Regions from separate parts of the Homo sapiens genome. Here region 2 is linked to region 1. The links are contacts of gene promoters, found by promoter capture Hi-C in human tissues and cell types (Jung and others, 2019). All regions are on one chromosome and are shown on one strand. The core of a region is centred on a gene start or on the middle of the fragment in contact, and the rest is flanking DNA. Distances in the headings are between cores, read along the strand shown.

What was found. Contacts are between HindIII fragments. The study calls those that stand out against the background at their distance.
Region 2: a fragment that was not itself captured here is called in contact with the fragment with the promoter of PROM1 in region 1 in 2 of the 25 tissues and cell types used here (H1 embryonic stem cells and dorsolateral prefrontal cortex).

What each region holds. Positions count from the first base shown.
Region 1 is chr4:16,082,266-16,089,573 of GRCh38, reverse strand. PROM1 (prominin 1) reads left to right here and starts at 5,551. Exons shown (of 28, transcript NM_006017.3): 1 at 5,551-5,596. The HindIII fragment of the contact is 8,177 bases long and covers 1,148-7,308 here.
Region 2 is chr4:16,217,435-16,224,824 of GRCh38, reverse strand. The region is part of intron 1 of TAPT1 (transmembrane anterior posterior transformation 1); the gene reads left to right. Among named protein-coding and RNA genes, the nearest start is that of TAPT1, 5.3 kb to the left of the region's middle. The HindIII fragment of the contact is 5,454 bases long and covers 2,087-7,390 here.

The sequences.
Region 1 (7,308 bases), core at 4,302-6,801:
TGAAGCATTTGGTGCCCTACCGTAAGGCAGATAGCCACCCATTTCAATCCAATGTGGCAGTGGCCTGAAAAGGTTTTATGTTATCTTCTGGTGCATTGGTGATCATGGGCCAGATCTGAGTTCAAATTTAGTGCTTGACTTACTACCTTGGTGACCTCAGGTTACTGAACCTATTTTAGCCTTATCTTTATGATAGAGATAATATGATCTCAAACTGCTGTTGTTGCTAAGGTTACATAAAATAATTCATTTAAAGCACTGGGCCCAGCGCCTCATTCATAGTAAATGCTCGTTAAGTGTGGGTGTTACTCTCACTACTTCTGTTTTTTTTTTAATTTAAAATTTTTGTGAATACAGAGTAGGTGCATATATTTATGGGTTATGTGAGATATTTTGGTACAGGCATGCAATGTGTAATAAGGCATAAGGGTAAATGGGGTATCTGTCCCCAAAATCATTCTTGTTATTGATTTCTAGTTTTATTCCACTGTAGTCAGGGAAGATGCTTGATGCTATTTCAGGTTTTTAAAAAATGTCTTAAGACTTGATTTGACCTAACATATGGTTTATCCTTGAGAATGATCCATGTGTTGCAGAAAAGAATGTCTATTCTGCAGGCATCGGATGAAATGTTCTGTAAATATCTATGAGGCTCATTCTACAGTGCAGATTAAGTCTGATGTTTCTTTGTTGATTTTCTGTCTAGAATATCTGTCCAAAGCTGAAAGTGGGATGTTGAAGTCTCCAGCTGTTATTGTATTGAGGTCTAGCAGTCTCTTTAGCTCTAATAATATTTGCCTTATATGTCTAGATGCTCAAGGGTTTGGTGCATATACATTTACAATTGTTAGATCCTCTTACTGAATTGAGCCTTTTCTCATTATATGATGACCTTTGTCTCTTCTGATAGTTTTTGTTTTGAAGTCTGTTTTGTCTGATATAAATATAGCTACTCCGGCTCTTTTTTTGGTTTCCATTGGCTTGGAATATCTTTTTATGTTCCTTATTTTCAGTCTATTTGTGTCATTATAGGTCACATATGTTTATTGTAGGCAATAGACCAATGGGTCTTATTTTTTAATCCATTCGCCCACTCTATGTCTTTTGATTGCAGAGTTTAGTCCATTTAATTCAATATTATTATTGATAAGTAAGGACTTACTCCTGCTCTTTATTTGCTTTTTGGTTGTTTTGGGGTCTTCTCTTCCTTCTTTCATTTCTCCCTGTCTGCCTTTTAGCAAAGGTAATTTTCTCTGGTGGTATGATTTAATAGCTTGCTTTTTATTTTTGTGTATTCATTGTGTTTCTTTGACTTGAAGTTCTCGTGAGCCTTGCAAATACTATCTTCTTATAACCCACTATTTTATGTTAGTAATTACTTAACACTGATTACATAAACAAAGAAAACTAATAAGAGCTCTACACCTTAACTTCCTCCCCTTGCTTCTAAACTCTTTGTTGTTTCTCCTTATATTTTATTGTGCTGTCTATGTCTTGACAAGTTGTCGTAGTTATTATTTTTGATTGGTTCATCATTTAGTCTTTCTACTTAAGATAAGAGTAGTTTACACACCACAGTTACAGTGTTATAACATTCGGTGTTTTTCTGTGTACTTACGATTACCAGGGAGTTTTATATCTTCAGATGATTTCTTATTGCTTGTTAACATCCTTTTCTTTCAGATTGAATAACTCCTTGTAGCATTTCTTGTAGGACAGGTCTGGTGTTGATGAAATCCCTCTGCTTTTGTTTGTCTGAGAAAGTCTTTATTTCTCCTTCATGTTTGAAGAATATTTTTGCTGTATATATTATTCTAGGGTAAAAGTTTTTTCCCTCCAGCAGCTTAAGTATGTCACGCCACTCTCTCCTGGGCTGTCAGGTTTCCACTGAATAGTCTGCTGCCAGATGTATTGCAGCTCCATTGTTTGTTAATTCTTTCTTTTCTTTTGCTGCTTTTAGGATCCTTTATCCTAGACCTCTGGGAATTTGATTATTGCATGCCTTGGAGTAGTCATCTTTGGGTTTATCTGCTAGGTGTTCTATACAATTCTTGTATTTGGATATTGATACTTTTCTATAGGTTTGAGTGGTTCTCTGATATTATCCCTTTGAATAATCTTTCTACCCCATCTCTTTCTCGACCTTGTCTTTAAGGCCAGTAACTCTTAGATTTGCTTTTTTAGGTAATTTTCTAGATCTTGTAGGCATGCTTCATTATTTTTTATTCTTTTTTCTTTGTCTTCTCTGACTGTATTTTCTAATAGCCTGTCTTTAAAAGTGCACTATTTCTTCTCCTTAATCAATTCTGCTATTGAAAGACTCTGATGCATTCTTCAGTATGTCAGTTGCATTTTTAAACTTGAGAATTTCTGCTTGATTCTTTAAAATTATTTCAATATCTCTATTAAATTTATCTGATAGAATTCTGAATTCTTTTTCTGTGTTATCTTAATTTTCTCTGAGTTTCTTCAAGATATTGATTTTGAATTCTCTGTCTGAAACATCACATATCTCTATTTCTCCAGGGTTGTTCCCTGGGGACTTATTTAGTTTGTTTGGTGAGGTCATGTTTTCCTGGGTGGTCTGGAAGCTTTTGGATATTCATTGGTGTCTGGGCATTGAAGACCACCCCAAGAGCCTGCTTAGTACTCTACCTCCCTGTGGCTGAGCTGGTACCTAAGGGGAAGGAAAACATCCTCTTTACTTTTCCTTCTGCTTTTGTCAAGCAGAAGGAGTCTCTCACATTAGCCACCACAGTTGGGAATATACTGGGTCTCACCTGAAACCAGCAGATCTCAGAGTCACACCCAAGAACCACAGTGTACTACCTGAGTATTGCTTCTGGCTATTGAGAACCCAAGGGCTCTTTAGCCAACAGGTGATGGGTCCTGCCCAGACTGTTTCTTTCCCTTCAAGGCAGCAGTTTCCCTTCTGGCCCAGGATGTGTCTAGAAATGTTATCCACAAGTTAGGACCTGGGATGGGGGTCTGATGACTCAGACTGATGCCCTGTCCTACTGTGGCTAAACTGATATTCAAGATAACAAAGTCCTCTTTACTCTTCCCCCTCTTCTCTTCAAGCAGAAGGAATGGGTCTCTTCGTGCTGTTTTTAATCACTCCAGCCACTAGCATTGGGACTGATGCAGACACTAAGGATCCAAATGATTATTTTTGTTTTGTTTTTTTAACTGCATTGGGATTAGGCAACAGAAGGGTCTAATGTGGCTGAGAGTTTTTGAGAGAGGAGCATTTTTAGGAGGGTAGCTGCATTCCAAGTAGAGAGCTCTGCTGGGGTAAAAGAGGCATGAGTGCTAGAAAAGGGCATGCAGTGATGAAGAGCCACTAACAGCACTACCTGGGGTTGGGGTAGGGGTGTCACAAGCACTCCCTTAGCTCCCCTGTCTGGTGTCTCAGTAAGTCGCATGCCCTCCAAGTCTACTGGCTCTGAGCTCAGCATTTGGGCTTGCTTAGGAGTTGCTGTCCTTGTGGCCTAGGCTGCCTTTAAGGTTATTTGGGGCCCCAGAGCACTTTACTGAAACTCAAGTTTTCACCACTGGTATGGGCTATTTCCTCTGAGGGAAATTGGCTGAGTTCAGCCTAGTTTTGCTTTCTGCTATGACAGAGCAGTACTGAGTTCAATTCAAAGTCTCCCAATCACTGCACTCTCCCTTTCCCAAGCCACAAGGCTGCTGCTGCTGGGGGATGGAGGACTGGCGGCATTGGCAAATCAAAACTGTCTTTCCTGGCTTCTTCAGTGCCTCTTTCAGTAATATGAAATTAAAACCAGGTATTGTGGTTACTCACCTGATTTTTGGTTCTTATAAAGGTGCTTTTTGTGTGTGTAGATAGCAGTTAAATTGTGTTCCTAGCCGGGGTGGGGGGTGGGTGGTCAAACCTTCTATTTGACCATCTTGCTTCACCCCTTTCTACTGATACTATTGTTGTTGATATTATTAGGAATGAAAATGAGCCCTGTGAGTTATAATTGTCTTCATTTTGCAGACCAGGAAACTGAGGCTCAGAGAAATATTAAGCAGCCAAAGTCACAGCGATTAAAAGAGGCGGGACCAAACTTTGACGGAGATCAGGACCCACTCCTTTGAGAAATCACCTCTTTTGCTAGCTCCAGCCTAAAAGTGCTATCTAGGAGAAGGTTTATGGGACCCCAGCAGATGTTCAACCAGAAACTTCTGACCTGCAGGGGCTGCAGAGGGGAAATCTGCCCTGATTAGAAGAGATTTGTTTTCCACCCATATTAGTTTGATCTCACATTGCTATAAAGAACTACCTGAGACTGGGTTTCAGAGGCTGTACCGTAGGCATGGCCAGAGAGGCTTCAGGAAACTTACAATTATGGTGGAAGAAGGGAAAGCAAGCACATCTTCACATGGCAGAAGGAGAGACAGAGCGAGCAAAGGGGAAGTGCCACACACTTTTAAATCATCAGATATCCTGAGAACTCACTCACTATCATGAGAACAGCAAGGGAGAAATCCGCCCTCATAATCCAATCACCTCCCACTAGGTCCCTCTCCCAGTGAATTATAATTCAATATGAGATTTGGATGGGGACACAGAGCCAAACCATCTAACCTTGCCATGTCCTACTGTACTTTTTGGAAGTTTTCTGAACTAACATTTCTTGTCTAGAAATATACACACTCAAGATCAATCTAACTATTAAAAACAAAAAATGCTTATTTTCCAGTACCTGTTTTATGTTAGATTCTGGGGTAAAAAGAAAAAGGTACTGACTTAATGTTCCTGTCTATCATTCATTTGTAGCTTGTGCATCCATCCTTTCATCTGTCTATCCATATCACAAACATGTATTAAACACCTGCTGTATGCTAGACACCATCCTGAAGGTGCATTTCTTCCCTAAGTCTTTTTTTTGCCTGCCGGAGAGTACAGTATTCTCAATTCAAGATAAGAAGTGGTGAATAAGAGTGAAGTGCAAATTGGTGAGGACACTTAGACACCGAGTGATTACTTCTGACAGGTTTCCACCACTCAGCTAAGTAGCAAGGTGAAGACTCCGAGGTTGAGTTGTAACTCACAGAGCGGGAAGACCAATAGGCAGTGAGAAAAGAAGTTGCAGTGGCTTCACGTTATAGCAGATGCCTGTGTGTACACATGGGAGCGAATATGGCTTTATGCTGTTTTTCAACCGCTTCAGCCACTAGCATTGGTACTGCTGCACACTAAGGATCCAAATGATTGTTTTTTTGTTTTTTGTTTTGTTTTGTTTTGTTTTGTTTTGTTTTAAATTGCATTGGGATTAGGCAACAGAAGGGTCTAATGCGGCCGGGATGAGACAGGAGAGTTTTTAGGAGGGTAGCTGCATTCTAAGTAAGGGACTCTGCGGGGGGAAAAGAGGCGCAAGCGTTGCAAGAAGGGAGTGCAGGGGGTTGAGCAGGCACCTCTACAGGAAATGGATGCTGTCCAGGTGCTGGTGGGCGCCCCAGGGCTACGTGGCGAAGCAGCTCAGCCGGTCCAATCAGAGTGCGTCCAGGGCTCGGGTTTCGCGATCTTTAAGTGACTGAGGCAGATCCCCACGCGGCACCTGGCCATGCTCTCAGCTCTCCCGCCGCGGTGAGTATGTTTAAGGAATCCTTTCCATTACGGCGGCCCCATACCTAGGTCCCCGTCCGGGACAGAGGAAGCCGCAACGGGTCCCCCCGGGCACCCGGGCCTTTCTCCTGCCTCCCGCCACGTCCGAGGGTCCGGCCGCAGCGCCGCCTGAGCCCCTCCGCGGCCGGCAGTGGGAGGCGGGCTCTCCGAAAGCCGTCGCGGTGGTCCCAGAAGCCGGGTCATAAATAATTCACGAGCCAGGGTCTGGCGAGCTAAGGGAAGGGCGGCGGCAGCGGTGACTAGGGCGGGAGCAGGAGCGGGAGCCGGGTGCACGGTGAGTAGCTGGGTCCTCATCCCGGAGCGAGAGAGGCATCTGCTGACCAGGCGCGGGGCTGAGCGCACTCCTTCCACTGTACTGGGGGTGTACAGTGAGGAGTGGACGGGTTCGCTCTGCGCCCCCCTTACCCTAGCCATCTGCGCCGCCTCCCTGGCCCCTCAGCAGGTGGTGCGGGCCCGGACAGCGGCTGGGGGCCAGAGGAACTGCGGGGAGAGCGTGGTGGTGCCGGTGCCCGTCCAACCCAAACTTTTTAGTCTGAGTGGTGGCCCGCGACGCCCCGCTTGGGTCTTCTTTCCATCCACTGGGGATGGGGGCGGGGGTGGGGGTAGCCGGCGGCCGTGGTTCCGGAGCGGGAGTCGGAGGTGAGTGTGCGAACTGGACCGGGGCCCCAGAGACTTCGGACTCGCTCTCGGGGAGAACGGTGACCGAGGTGAGACTCGCCAGGGTCTTGGGAACGAGTCTGCGGTAAAGGAAACTCTAGGGATGGCCCCGGGGACGTGAGGCGCTGAGCTTCCCTGGCTGAGTGCGGAAATGGGCCAACACTGTGCAGCCGACCACAGCGGGAGTAGGGATATGGGGGTACAAAGCGAGGCCATCTCCCCGCGTCCGTGGGAGAAAGCATGCACCCCTGGCTTGAAGCACCTTCCCAGCCTCTCGCTCCACGGCCCTTCTGCTTGCATGCGCGGGGACCCGCGGCTATCGCTAGATGGAGAACTGGGGTGCTCAAGGCGCACCCTGCCAGAACACGCCGACCGGACAACAAAGAGGAGCGTGGACAGACCAGGAGCTTCACGGCTGTAGAAAGTCAGAGGCTCGGGATCAGTTTCCCCGAAAGCCCGTGTCTGGAGGGGCAGGGAGTCGGATCGGAGGGAGGAACTAGCTCCAGAACCCCTTCTCTCTGGCAAGATCGCCCCCGATCGGTGCCCAACAGGGGCCGCGGCGGGGAACTGGCGCCGACGCGCTCAGAGCAGCCAAGTTACTCCGGCAACCCCCTCCCCTGCGCGGCTGCGAATTCCTGGAGTCTCTTGGCTTCCCGCGCCCGCCCCGCCGCTCATTCTTTTGTGTCCCGCAGCTCGCGAGAGGCTTCCGCCCAGAAGGGAGCTAGGCCTGGAGGGGGCTTGGCCTGGAGGTGGTTTGGAGGTAAAGGGCGGGGAAGCCGGCGCCCCAGGCTTCATTCTGCAACAGGTTGCTCCTGGAGCCCGCTAAGGCGACTGACCTTTCTGGAGAAAGGTTTGCTGGAGTTCCTGAGGGCGGCAGCTGTTCTTTGTTAAGAAAGCAAGTGCACGATCGTAGTTCTTGAGTGCCCCCCGAGACTCATGCGACACGAACAACCGCTGCGATATGTTGGGTTGAATCATAAGAAATTGTCGGTTTTTTGGATGGAAGATGTGAATAT
Region 2 (7,390 bases), core at 3,564-6,063, 140 kb before region 1:
CAGATCTTGAGCTTGCAGTATCACTTAACACTTCTTCCCTGGCTTTTTCTGGGACTGGATACCTGGACTTCCATGGACTTCATTATACCACGTATCCATTCTTCACCAACATGGTTCACCATGTTTAAGGCTGGATTTTTTTTAACCCATAGTTGCAGGAAGTCATTATCAGGGAGATGCCTCCAGGTTTAGCTGTTGGGGTAGTCCTTGTTCTTTCCCCAGTTCCATTGATTTTGTGTGAGGAGATGTCAGTGGCCACTCCTGCTTTACCAAGTCACACTAGCCTTGGCGATCAGGATTTAGGTGAGAATTCCAAATTCCAGGAGTATTTCAGCTGGAGCCACTGGCCAGTGTTCTCTCTGAGCCTCCACATAAGCCCCTCCTTCTTTTCCCCTGGTGTCCCTGCTCTGCTAGTCACATAGCTCCTGCCACTGCTAGCACCCAGTCTGTAGCTCCGATAACCATATTTGTTAGAGGTTTCCCCACTAGAAACAATTATTTTAGTCCTTCTTCAATGCCCAGGCTGCTAAGTCTAGCGCTGCCCTCTTCCCCTGCTCTGTAATCCTTCCTTCCCCTCCTTTTAAGAATTTTTAAAAACGATTCCCTAGGAGCTGGCCTGGGTCAGAGGGCCTTTGAGTGGCAGCACCTGGAGTCATTTGGATAGCATTTCTCCCTGAATCAAACTAGTCCTCCACGGCTAGATGCTCGGACTTAAGGTATTACTTGTTGATTTTTTTATATTCTTGTGTGCCTCTGAGAGTCTAGCACCACTGCCCTTGAGATCTAGATCCCCCTGCAAGTTAAGGCAACCTTTGGCTTTTCTTTTTGAAAGTCATAATCTTAGTGTCTTGGTGGCTGAACCATCAGTCAGTTCCAAAGTTCCCTTTATCATTTCTCACAAGGAATTTAGGGCTCCTACAGGTAAGACATTTGTTGATCAGTCCCAACAGCCTAGAATTCCCTAAATGAATGTACATATTAGGTACTTATCCAAACTCTTTCCATCTGAATAAAATAAAACGTGGTGTCTGAGGTTCATTTTTTGTTTTATATCTCTCCTTGTTGATTTATATGTTTAGAAACTAGATATGTATATTTGTCTGTATGAATAGCTGTATATGCTCTATATTGTATTATACTAAACATGTGTCTCCATTAAGTCTAAGCTTTCTTTTCCTCATCACTTCGTTCTCAGAACTCCCGTTCTGACTTATATTTAGCCTGGCAATAGGCTGACGCATGTCTCAGATGCGAGTACTTACACCTTTTAACATAGTTAGAATTGGGAATCCCACTCATCATTCCTGTTTTTATTTGCTCTCTCAGAATGGTCATTGTGTATTTCCTTGTTGCATATGTGGTTACTGGCCTTGAACTCTGGATGTAGTGGTTATCAAGAACTGCAGATTGATCTCTTCTGTATTTTCTTCCTGTCCTTGAAAATACTACCAACTTCTGTTGTTCCTTTTGACATAAAACCAAATAATCAATGTTATGTTTTTGTGCTTGTTCCCCACTTGATTCATCTGCAGAAGTCCTAGGTAGGAGAGTTTCTGTATAGCCATATTTTTATTTAGGAATCTAAGTACAGCAAATCAACTTTGGACTAAGCATTAGGAAATCTGTGTTTTTGGCTTGGTTGGGTTGTTGAATTGCTTTGTAAACTCTGTGCTTGCTTAGACTGCTTGCCTAATCAGTTTGGTTCTGTTTCATAATGCCACTACTAGATAGTTCAGTATCTGAAGCATCTAGGTTGCTTCTAGTCACCATGGAGACTTAACAGAAGGCTTGGTGTAAATAAGGGTAGCACCTGTGAGGGTAGCACAGGTGAAACAGTACCTGTGTAATGCAGGTGTTGGAGATGCATGGGGATAGGTATTGCTTGTAAAACAAGAAAGCCTGAAGTCGGGTATAGGTGAACATATTGTTTCTACTGGTAACAGTGCCATGGACCCATTTCTTTCTTCTTTAACAGTGACTCTGGACTTCTAAAACTTCAACTTATTATCCATCTCTTTTGCCTCTCTCCTCTCCCTTTAACCATGGTTAGACCTCTTCTTGCTTCACCTCTGTTAGAGATTGAGCAGAGGCAGGAAGAATGAAACCCAGAAAAGTCAACTGAATTTTTAGCAATACCCTTAAAAGATTTCGAGTGGGACGAAGGTTTTAACTATTCATATTACCTATGTCTTATTCTTTGTGTAACTGAAAATTTGTCAGTTTCTTCTTACAAATACATTTTTATTAAAATATGTTTTCATTTAACCAGTCTTCACCTATATCACATAGTTATCCCAGTGGCCCCAAACTTAACCAAATGGATGATTAAAGGGTGACTGATTCTAAAATTATGATCTAGAGCCAATTAATTTGTTCACAAAGAAAAATAAAAATAATAAAACCGGGAAATTACTTGGAGTAACCACAAACCAGATACAAAGTAAAATTAGCTACTTCTGACAAACTATTGCTTTGCTTTTAAAATTCTCACTTGCTTTACTTAATTAGTATATATAGACCAAACGAACAATGAAAAGTTACTTATTTTGGTTTTTGATCAGTTCAGTGTCTTGGCTTTTGACAGTTTTTAACTTTAACTTAGTTTACGCTCTGAAATTCAATCCTAGCAGCTCATTTGTGCTCCAATTTGGGGACTACTTGCATAAAAGAAGTCTCTGGAAAGCCTATATAGCATTGACTGTCAAATTAATGATATTCTATTCTCATTTGTAATCCTTTGCTTTATAACCTTATGACCTTGGAAAAAGTCACTCCTTTGTTTATACCTGTTTTCCATCTATACATGTGTAAATATTCTACTCTTTACTCCTCTAAATGAGACTATAAACATTTTTTCAAACATCTTAAAAACTTGAATATACTGTGTGAAATGGTTCTTTACTTAATGTTTGACTTAGGAAGGCAGAATTGCTGTTGTATGATTGAGTCCCAGAAAAGCTGATTACTAATTGGCCTGGTACAAGAGTGTGTCTCTGTTCAATAAGCTTATTTAATATTTTAGTGTAACCTTAATAAAGTTTACTAAAGTTTTATGTTATTTAAGACTATGGAGATATGCATGTTTCATATTTTCCTAACAGTTAACCAGTATTACTTTCCAAATTTTTAAATGCTCAATGCTATTTTAAGAAAGATATATTTAGACATATTACTGAACATATAAATATATTTATGATTACTCATTACTTTTAATTAATACTTTTTAATCTTTGGTTCTTATTTCTAAAATAAGCTTTCTTAGAAGATAATTAAACATTGTGTTTTTTCTTTTAGGGGTGAAGAAAAAGCAATTTATACTATGCTTTTTCTGAATTTAAGTTCTGGATCACAGAGCAATTCTGTGGTAGGAGATGATATCATGTAAAAATATGCTGGAGGGGCTGGGCGCGGTGGCTCACTCCTGTAATCCCAGCACTTTGGGAGGCTGAGGCGGGTGGATTGCCTGAGCTCAGTAGTTCGAGACCAGTATGGGCAACACGGTGAAACCCTGTCTCTACTAAAATACAAAAAATTAGCTGGGCGTGGAGGTGTGCGCCTGTAATCCCAGCTACTTGGAGGCTGAGCCAGGGGAATTGCTGGAACCCAGGAGGTGGAGGTGGAGGTTGCAGTGAGACGAGATCGTGCCACTGCACTCACGCCTGGGCAACAGGTGACAGAGCAAGACTGTGTCTCCAAAAAAAAAGTATATATATATGTACGTATGTGCTGGAGGAATTGATTTGGATTTATGATTGGTATTATTTTCCTCATATTACATATTCACAGTTGACGGCTGGGCACGGTAGCTCACACCTATAATCGTAGCACTTGGAGAGGCCAAGGCGGGTGGATTGCTTGAGCCTAGGAGTTCAAGACCAGCCTAGGCAACATAGTGAAACCCTGTCTCTATAAAAAATACAGTGAGCCAAGATTGTGCCACTGGGCTGCAGCCTGGGCAACAGAGTGAGACCCTGTCTCAAAAAAAAAAGAAAATTCACAGTTGTCAAAACATAGTTCTTCTAATGTTAAGCACTTGTTTATGCTATAATAGTAAAATGTTTCTTTTTTTTTTTTTTTGAGATAGAGTCTCGCTCTGTCACCAGGCTGGAGTACAGTGGTGCGATCTTGGCTCACTGCAACCTCCGCCTCCTGGGTTCAAGCAATTCTCCTACTTCAGCCTCCCAAGTAGCTGGGACTGCAGGCGTGCACCACCATGCCCAGCAAATTTTGGTATTTTTAGTAGAGACGGGGTTTCACCATGTTGGCCAGGATGGTCTCCATCTCTTGACATTGGGATCCACCCGCCTTGGCCTCCCAAAGTGTCTATTTTTAAAAAACTTTTACTGAATGATATTTCTTCCTGGTAAGATTGGGATAAATGAACTAAGATTAATTGACATCTTAAAAACTGAAATCAGTGTTCAGAAAGTAAATATTTGGATTATTGGAAAAATACTTATTTTTAAAACGTAGAGGTAGATGTTTGGCATAACAAATGAGAGTGACTGTTTTGCTTAGAAGGAATGAAATACTGCAAAAGTCTGACAGAAGTTAAGATGTACTTAGCTGTCAGAGTTCTTGGTGATACCCATAGGTAAAGAACAGTGGCTTTGCTAAATAATTAACCAGTCAACTGTAGCCAAAATTATAGGACAGATAAGTTCAGATAGGTCTATAGAATTCTAGAGAGCAATGTTTAACAAAATAAAAACAAGCGAAACACTGAAACGCAGGTATACCTCGGCACTGGAGATTGAGTGGCGCTCTGGGAAATGCAGCCTTCTCCAGGAAAAGGTGGGAATGGTCCTGGCAGAGCAGAAGCAGCGAGGCTAACTCGATGGCTCTGGCAGTGAGGCACTGTACCCTCCTACCTCCTTCACCATGAATCACAGCCAAATTATAATTGTCAGAGAGATGGTTGATCATTTTGATGTAGGGGAGAGAGCACGCTGGACTAGGTACTATTCCCAATTTGTCACTTAGCTTTTCAATGACTTTGGACAAGTCTCTCAACTTCTGTGAACCTCAGTTTTTTCATAATATGAAAATGGACAAAATATGGACACCATTAATTGCTCTGTTTAACTCTCATGATTGTTGCAAGAATTGTATGAAGTAATGTGTGCAAGACCTTTGTAAACTGCCTTATACTATAAAGTAGAAGGATCCTAATCCCTAAAATAAAGCCACTTACGCAGGAGTAGGTGAGAAGGAGGTAAGACAAAGCTTTCAAGATATTTACCTTATGAAACTTTGTTGTTGTGGTTAGTATTTCTTTAGTGTATCATTTAAAACCATTCCCCAGCCTATTAGCATCGCGCTAATTGTACGCAAAGTTTACCCTTACATTCAGAACTCACCGGCAGGGCTGGACTTCGAGAATATAGGGATACATGGGGCCTGCTCTTAGAAAGTTCATGGTCTTGTAAGGGAGCAACTAGTAAAGAGTGTAGCTTCACAGAAGTCAGCCCAAGCTGCAGTGGGAGCACAGGTAAAGGGGAGGGACAGAGGGCTCCTAATTTTCCAGAAGTAACACAGTGGCCTGTTTACAAAGGCACTTGAGGCAATAATAGGCAAAGCTATCTAATGGTGAAAAGCACACTCTCTAGCCATAGACTGCTTGACTTTGAATTCTGGCTTTTCTGCTTGCTTCCTGTGTGACCTTGGAGATCTCCTTAGCCTCTCTGGGCCTTGGTTTCTTCATCTGCAAAATGGGCATAACAGTAGAACCTGTTTCATAGTTGTGAGAGCTGTACACTCAAAATAGGTTATGTTTTTATTTGACTTTTTATATTCTCCATTGTAGAATCTAAACTAGTGTTTATAATTAAAATTCTTGGATATCTAGAGGTAGAATCCAGACATTGTATTGTTTTGTACTTGTAATTAAAACACTCAGTATTTATGTTGTATGATAACATGTTTACAGAAAATTACTTAGATGATATATGTTGTTAAATATACTTATTTGTCATATTACCTTTTAATGATAGAGCTAGGATTGCAGAAATAAACATTAGATAACCACCAAACCAGAACTGATTAATACTACAGTACTTGTGAAGTTAATATGAAGTAGTTGAAGACACTGCGTCATGCTTTGCAGTTTTTATATACTTTCATACAAATACTGTCTTAGTCCTTTGATGATTCTGTGGATAAGGCAAACAGCTGACAGGTATTAAAAAACTGCTCTAAGCTTCCATTTTCTTTTCGGTGAAATTGACATCTGTGACTGGAGCAGGGTCACAGGACTAATGTTTAAGACAGCTGGTACCAGGACAGCCTTCCTCTGGTTGCTAATCCCATGCTCTTCTGTGGATCATAACACAACTCTCATTATGGTCAAAGCTGTCATCTCCAGTCACCAGAGAAGACACCATTGTGGAGAATAATTTTCCAAATAAACCTCTTTTTCTTGAGATGGAGTTTCACTCTTGTCACCCAGGCTGGAGTACAGTACACGATCTCGGCTCACTGCAGCCTCTGCCTCTGGGTTTCAAGTGATTCTCCTGCCTCAGCCTCCCAAGTAGCTGGGATTACAGGCACCTGCCACCACACCTGGCTAATTTTTTGTATTTTTAGTAGAGACGGGGTTTCGCCATTTTGGACAGGCTGGTCTCAAACTCCTGACCTCAGGTGATCCTCCCACCTTGGCCTCCCAAAATTGATGGGATTACGGGCGTGAGCCACTATGCCCGGCCCCAAATAAACCTTTTTATTTAATTTGCTTTTTAAAATTGAAAATGATTGTGCAGTAATGTGTTTCTGTATCTCTTTAACCCAGATGGCATTCTTGTGGGCTGCGTAATTTCTTTCCTTGCACTTAGTGTGGACAATGAGGATCTCCTTATTCCCAAACCCAGGGCACTCACTGGCTGTGACTGCATCATGGTACCCTGTTCCCTCAGGGGGTTTGAGGTTCAGGTACCCGTTGGGTTACCTTTACAGTCACTTAGCTACACATACAGAGTAGAGGCTCCTGAATCAGCAGCAGCTGCTACCTTGAGTGAAGCTTTTCACTCCTTCCCTGCTAACTCCCCAAGTCTCAGAACAATTCTGTCACAATCACAAGTTCTTTTCTCAAGTATCTGGAATGCTCTTCTTTTGTCATGTCTGATTTTTGTTTTATATTGGTACGTTGTTATTTATTAAGCAATTCCATTACTATTGAACATTTTGATTAATTCCAGTTTTGTTTTCATATAGATCATCTTTCAATAGAGAAATTCAGCGGTAAAGAAAAATGAGAAAATACCAGAAATTATCATATCAGAAGGGACAAATCACCCACATGAAAGTTTAGCTCAGTTTGCTGTTCACATCACTTCCTCAATTCTTTGTCGGTTCTGTTCTTTGCTGCCTGACTCCTAAAGAGACTAATTTGGCC